2 separate regions of the Homo sapiens genome follow, and region 1 is linked to region 2. The links are contacts of gene promoters, found by promoter capture Hi-C in blood cells and fetal thymus (Javierre and others, 2016). All regions are on one chromosome and are shown on one strand. The core of a region is centred on a gene start or on the middle of the fragment in contact, and the rest is flanking DNA. Distances in the headings are between cores, read along the strand shown.

Region 1 (3,373 bases), core at 315-2,814, 210 kb after region 2:
ATGTGACTGATCTAAACCCAAATCGGCCATGTAATTCCTCAGCTTAATAACTTTTAACGGTATCCCAAAGCCTCCAAGAGAAAATTCAAGTGCTCAAATATGTCTCCTAGCTTTGTCTACCATTCCCTGCCTCACATTTGATGCTCTAACAACTCTGAGCTACTTTGTTTCTTCAAACACATCATGCTGGTGCCTGTGCCGTTTCTAGATTCTATGCCTTTGCTCATGCTGTCCCTTTTGGCTTGAATGTCCTTCTACTCTTATGTTTTATCAGGCTAGCTTATGTTTACTCTTTAAGTTTCAGCTCAAGCATTACCTCTTCCAGGAAACCTTCCGTGACCGAATGCAAACTGGATGTCTCCTCTTATGCTCTCAAAACATCCTAGCCATTTCTCGCTTTATATCTGTCCATATCTGTCTCAGTCTCTCTCCACTTAAACACTGTATTATAATGATCTGGTTTTGTCTACCTCAGTAAGTTCCTCCTTATTCGGCTTGGTATCTCCTCCCTAGGTTCTATATGCACAGTAATTTTTTTTTTTTAGTGAATGAATACATGAGGTAGGAGAACTAGAACTGCTGGTCTTTGAAGCAGGCAGAAACTACAAGGAAGACAAACTTTTCTCACCTTCCACAGTAGAGATAACTGAGAAGACAGCCCGTTTCTAACTATGAGCTAAACTCCCCAACTCTCTGTAGTTAACACCTACTTGAATTTTCAGCCCTAATGTGGCTTGAAAGAGTGAAGAGTGAGGCCAGGCGCGGTGGCTCACGCCTGTAATCTCAGCACTTTGGGAGGCCGAGGCGGGTGGATCAGGATCACGAGGTCAGGGGATCGAGACCATCCTGGCCAACACGGTGAAACCCCGTCTCTACTGAAAATACAAAAATTAGCTGGGTGTGGTGGCGCGCGCCTGTAGTCCCAGCTACTCAGGAGGCTGAGGCAGGAGACTCGCTTGAACCCGGGAGTCGGAGGTTGCAGTGAGCCGAGATCGCGCCACTGCACTCCAGCCTAGCAACAGAGCGAGACTCCGTCAAACAAACAAACAAAACAGTGAAGAGTGAAGAAGGGGGCAGAGAGATGCGGACTGGGAGTTGGCGCCCTGAGGATTTTTGTTCACATCCAGGTGAACAAACACCTGTAGCCAGGGAGACACGTCACCTTCTGGGGAAGCGTATCCCTAAAATAACTGCTGCTTTTAGCCGCAAGGTCTGGCCCCACTGTGCACCTCACCCGAGTCTTTTTTGCCCTCTCCCCACCATCCCTCCTTAGTCCCCGAGCCCCACAATAGTCCCATTTCTATGAATTTGGGCGTTAAACTTAAAAACCGGAAGCGGCTTCCACACGGAGCCTATTATTGAGGACACCTGATTTCTCCCAACCCTTATGCTACGCGTTAGACTGTAGAAACACAACTAACCCGGATAAGGGACTGATATTCCTCCTTCAGTCGCTGCACCCACAACTCACGATCTCGGGGTCCGGCGTTAGTCTTCAGCACCGGGATCTCAGACACAACACGTCGCGTGGCTTCATCCGCCATCTTGGACCAGGGCGCAAGAGAAACGCGGAAGTGGTGTTGCCTGTAGCTTACCTCAAGGCGCCGTCATCTTTACTATGGGAAGATGAGACGTTGGGTTGCTGTAAGACCTCTTTTGAATAAGATCTTTGTTTTCTTGTCACCTAGTTACCCGCTTGTGAGTGCATCGAGAAGAACAGAATGTAAACAGATTACTCCGTCCTATATATGACACCTATCATTAAAATCACCGCATAAGGCACAAAGGGTGACTTCCGTTCATGCTCAGAGAAGTAATCGCAGAAAACCCGGACACCTTCCCAAACTTGGAAAGCTCTTAGAACTTCAGGCTGCTGAAGGCATTTTTACTTATTTATTTATTTTTATTATACCTTAAGTTCTAGAGTACATGTGCACAACGTGCAAGTTTGATACATAGGTATACTTGTGCCATGTTGGTTTGCTGCACCCATCAACTCGTCATTTACATTAGGTATTTCTCCTAATGCTATCCCTCCCCCAGCCCCGAGCCCCCAACCCCAAGGCGCTTTTCAAGGCACTGACTTCCTAAAACGAGCGATTCGTGTTTCCTCTTCGAAGAACTTTTCCTTTGCTTATATATAGTCCTGCCTCTAGATGCAGTTATCCTGTAGAAGGATGTTTAACTCCTGATAAAGATTAGAAACCATGCAGAATCAAAAGACAAATCCCTGCAAGATTTCTGCCTTAGTCTAGCCATTCACTGAGTCCTAGACTTTTTTTTTTTTAGACAGTGTCTCAATCTGTTGCCCAGGCTGGAGTACAGTGGTACGATCATAGCTTACTGCATCTTCCATCTCCCGGGCTCAAGCGATCCTCCTGCCCCAGCCTCCCCAAAGTGCTGGGATTACTTGTGGGGAAACAATAAACAAACTCCAGTTGGACTTAAAATCTAAACACATTAATTTTTGCTTTTTTTTTTTTTTTTTTTGGAGACCGAGTTTCACTCTTGTTGCCCAGGCTGGAGTGCAATGGCATGATCTCGGCTCACCGCAACCTCCGCCTCCCGGGTTCAATTGATTCTCCTGCCTCAGCGTCCTGAGTAGCTGGGATTACAGGCATGTGCTACCACGCCCGGCTGATTTTGTATTTTTAGTAGAGACCGGGTTTCGCCATGTTGGCCAGGTTGGTCTTGAACTCCTGACCTCAGGTGATCCACCTGCCTCAGCCTCCCAAGGTGCTGGGATTACAGGCGTGAGCCACCGCGCCGGCCATTTTGGCTTTAATTTAAATATCCTGTTTGGCTGGCGTGGTGGCTCAAGCCTGTAATCCCAGCAACTTGGGAGGCCAAGGCAGGTGGATCACTTGAGGTCAGGAGCTCCAGACCAGCCTGACTGGTGAAACCCGTCTCTACTAACAATACAAAATTAGCTAGGCATGGTGGCGCACGCTTGTAGTCCCGGCTACTTGGAGGCTGAGGCGGGAGAATCGCTTGAACCCGGGAGGCGGAGGTTACAATGAGCCGAGATCCTGCCATTGCACTCCAGCCTGGGCAACAAGAACAAGATTCCGTCTCAAAAAATAAATAAAACCTAAAAACGTTAATTATAGATTTAAATATCTTGTTTGGCCGGGTGCGGTGATTCACGCAGATAACCCCAGCACTTTCAGAGGCCGGGGTGGGCAGATGGCTTGAGCCCAGGAGTTCGAAAATAGCTTAGGCAACGTGGTGAAACCCCAGCTGTACAAAAAATACAAAAATTAGCCGGAGTGGTGGCGGGCACCTGTAGTCCCAACTATTTTGGGGGCTGAAGCAGGAGGATCTCTTGAACCCCGGAGGTCGAGATTGCAAATGAGCCAAGATTATACCACTT
Region 2 (3,466 bases), core at 668-3,167:
ACAATTAGGAGAAGGAAGGTAGGAGAAAATAAAGTAGGGAAAAGAACATACAGTGGTTTGGGTGGAACACATTTTTACAAGAATTGAGTCAGTTATACTCCAGAAATGACCAAGAGAAAGTTGGTCTGAATCATGGAAAAAGGGCAGAACCTCAAAGAACCAGTCCCTCAACCCTACCCACTCATTTTTTATCCTGAGCATGGACAACTAACAACTACAAAATCAGAAATAGAATTGAGTAGAGTATGTATATGTGTGTTTGGAGAAGGTGGGGAAGAAAAGGTAGGGAAAACCAAAGTAGAAGATACTATGCTTGTGTAAGACTTTCTATCTAAGCCCAAGTACAAATATAGTTTGAAAATTGAAGATATTAAAGTGATTGGAAGACAGAGAAGAAAAAGACAGTAAGTAGAAATTTAAGGCAGAATAACAAACATGATGCTCTGTCACACCCCCCACCCACCCACTACCATGCTTCAATCACCCAAATGGTACGAAACCACCAAAAAATTCAACTGCCCTACCCATTTTCCAGCCTCTAACAGCTGTTTATCATTGACCCCATTTTATATTTTCCTGGCACTGGCTGTTAAATTTAATGCCCTTGCCAAACCTTTCCCAGTCCCAATGACAAAGTGTTCTGTCATGATCACTTGTCCCTCATTCCAAGGACAAAGTAGAGAACAGCTGGTTTAAAATGGAGGAAAGGTACAAGGACTTCCCAGGGCCCCTCTAGTAAAAAGGGAAAACCAATCATTACTTAAAGCCAAATACTATTTGGGACCCTGAATGAAGACTGTTAAAACAGCGGGTCCCCACCTTAACTAAGGTCTTCCTATCCAATTGACACCAGCCAGTTAACATTTCCCCTCTTCGACCCACAGCTTTAACTGGCTGGCCAACAACTCGAAGTGACAGATGAGATAAGTCTCTTATTCCAGAGTTCCCAAAAACTATCAAAACAGCATGCCTGCTAAAGCCTGGCCTATATGGATTTTAAAAGCAGCAAGTTTTCTCATTAAATTATACATTTTTGCCAGGTTTTCAACAATCCCTTCTTTTTTAAAAAAAAACTCTATGCTTCATTCACCCCAAGCCTATAACCTCAGGTCATCATCCCCTAGCTGTCACCAACACTGGTCCTCTGTGCCCCTCAATGAATCATAATTTGCTGAACTGTACCATGAAGCTTATAATCAGTCCTTAATGGGATTTTGGTGCCTATAACCCAAAAGCACTCTACATGCGTCACTTCTTTTCTTTTTCTCCTTCCTTCTCTGAGGCTTTTCTGTGATATTTAAATCTCTGGCTAAGTTCTATCTGATTCCCTGAAAACTTTTCCAATGATGAGATGTAGGAGAACTGTTTCCCTCCTGGTAAAGGTCAGATTGCGGGGAGAGGGAGGATGTAAATGCCTGAGACCCGAGGGAAGAGGAGGAAATTGGTTCCTTCCCAACAGCCATTTTCTTGGTTTCTCTAGATTTCAAGGAGAGTCAAAGATAAAATGAGTATTTAATTCAGTTTCAGAAAAAAAGGGTACATTACTTCGATGAGAAAGCATAAAATTAAGAGGCTTTTCTGGAAATCCAAGAAAAAGAAATAACCATTAATATGTTCAATGATAATTTTCTAGATCTTCCTCGTGTCCAAAGCTATATATTTTCTCCTCAAAAGCAGCTGCTCCAAGAACTAACTAGCCCTCTTTATCTCCCTCTAGCTGGGACAGACTAATTCCCCTCCACCCCCACCTCTCTTCTTTCAATAACACTGTGTAGGTGTTAATGGCCTGGGCTCTCACCAATGAAGAGAATTGTCCTTTAAGCCAGCAACCCACAGGCAGTGGCACCCAAAGCCTCACCAACCCACCCCCCAACCCGGCCCATCCCCAGGGCAGAAGCCACAGAGCTGGCATTGTTTCCACTGTCTCAGGAAGAAGGAGCCAAAAGCTGACCCTCAGCACAAATCAAAGCCCAATATGGAGAGAGAATAACTGCTTCTAGGCCGAGAGTAGGCAAGCTGTGGGCAAAAAAGGGGAGTTTTTGCAGCCACCTCATCTTTAGAAACAAGGGGAAAACTAGACCCTTTTCCACTATTATGGTCTACCAGGTACTCTACTGCTCCAAGGAGATCTGAAAATACAAAAGGATCTAAACAAATAAGGAGAACTTTTCCCAGGCTGGAGATAAGAATGACAAACAGAAAGATGGGTGAATGTAATAATGTGTAGGAAGATGATGCTGGGAGCCTCCTTTCTTCACATGGCTGCCAGCCCCATAGAGGACAACACAGTAAGAACCAGGACAACCACTCCAGACTGGTATAGCTGGGGAATCTTCAGGCCTTTTCCTAGGTCCCACATCTGTGGACAAAGCAAAAAAAAAAAAAAGGAATTTCAGTAAATAGGACATTAACAGTTCCTGTCTCAGAAAGTAATTCTACCTAAAGGAATAGATATCTCCTCTCAGCATGATTCTAGAGAAAAGCGCTTCTACCCTTATGCCCCACCTTTACCCTTCTCAAAACCCACAGTATGGAACCTATTATCCACTTATTCCAATGACAGAAAATCAGGTTCTATTGTGTGGTGATGGTAGGAGGAATGTTCTCTAGAATGCCACAGGCCCCATACGGTATACAAAAGCTTCCAGAATGAATAGATACAACTTTTCCTCAGGACCACACATCTAGATTAATGTTTCTCAAGGTGTATTCTTCCAAACACTTGCTCTCAGAATGTTGAAAGCCATTGTATGGGCCAAAAAAAAAAAAGTTCTGTGGTCATACAAAGTTCATAAACATTTAACTGCAAGACTTTCTAAACAGTTTTTTTTTTTTTTTTTTTTTTGAGACGGACTCTCACTCTGTCGCCCAGGCTGGAGTGCAGTGGCATGATCTCAGCTCACTGCAAGCTCCACCTCCCAGGTTCATGCCATTCTCTTGCCTCAGCCTCCCAAGTAGCTGGGACTAGAGGCACACGCCACCACGCCTGGCTAATTTTGTTTTTGTATTTTTAGTAGAGATGGGGTTTCATCGAGTTAGCCAGGATGGTCTTGATCTCCTGATCTCGTGATCTGCCCGCCTTGTCCTCCCAGAATGCTGGGATTACAGGCGTGAGCCACTGCGCCCAGCCTCTTACAGTTTACTAATGCACACTGTGAATCTCCAAAAGAGAGATATAATATGCCTGATTTCCTAGATACAGTCAATCTCAGAATCTTTTTATAGAGGGAAACTCTATTTATCAGAGGACTAGTATTCTAAAGGATACTCTGAGATCTAGAACACTATTTCTCAATTTTGTTTTGACTGTGACTCCACTAAGAAATACCTTTAAAACTGGAACCCAATAGATATGTATATATAATATAGCAAAAGTTGATAAAACAATATTTACCATTACTAAGTGGTGCCATATATATACAAGTATATATTTATATATTTTATATATAAATAAACTTCATTAAAA

Evidence for each region. The method cuts DNA at HindIII sites, captures the fragments that hold promoters and counts their contacts. A CHiCAGO score of 5 or more calls a contact.
Region 1: the fragment with the promoter of UFC1 here is called in contact with a fragment that was not itself captured in region 2 in 2 of 17 cell types (M0 macrophages and M2 macrophages); the score reaches 5.9 in M0 macrophages.

Annotation. Positions count from the first base shown.
Region 1 is chr1:161,152,169-161,155,541 of GRCh38, reverse strand. UFC1 (ubiquitin-fold modifier conjugating enzyme 1) reads right to left here and starts at 1,564. Exons shown (of 6, transcript NM_016406.4): 1 at 1,422-1,564. The coding sequence starts at 1,544. RefSeq lists enhancers at 1,257-1,646, 1,687-1,736, 1,827-1,876, 765-1,964, 1,202-1,982. The HindIII fragment of the contact is 16,464 bases long and covers 1-3,373 here.
Region 2 is chr1:161,361,222-161,364,687 of GRCh38, reverse strand. It overlaps SDHC (succinate dehydrogenase complex subunit C), which reads right to left. Exons shown (of 6, transcript NM_003001.5): 6 at 1,482-2,359. The coding sequence ends at 2,255. Among named protein-coding and RNA genes, the nearest start is that of CFAP126, 4.9 kb to the left of the region's middle. The HindIII fragment of the contact is 1,452 bases long and covers 1,192-2,643 here.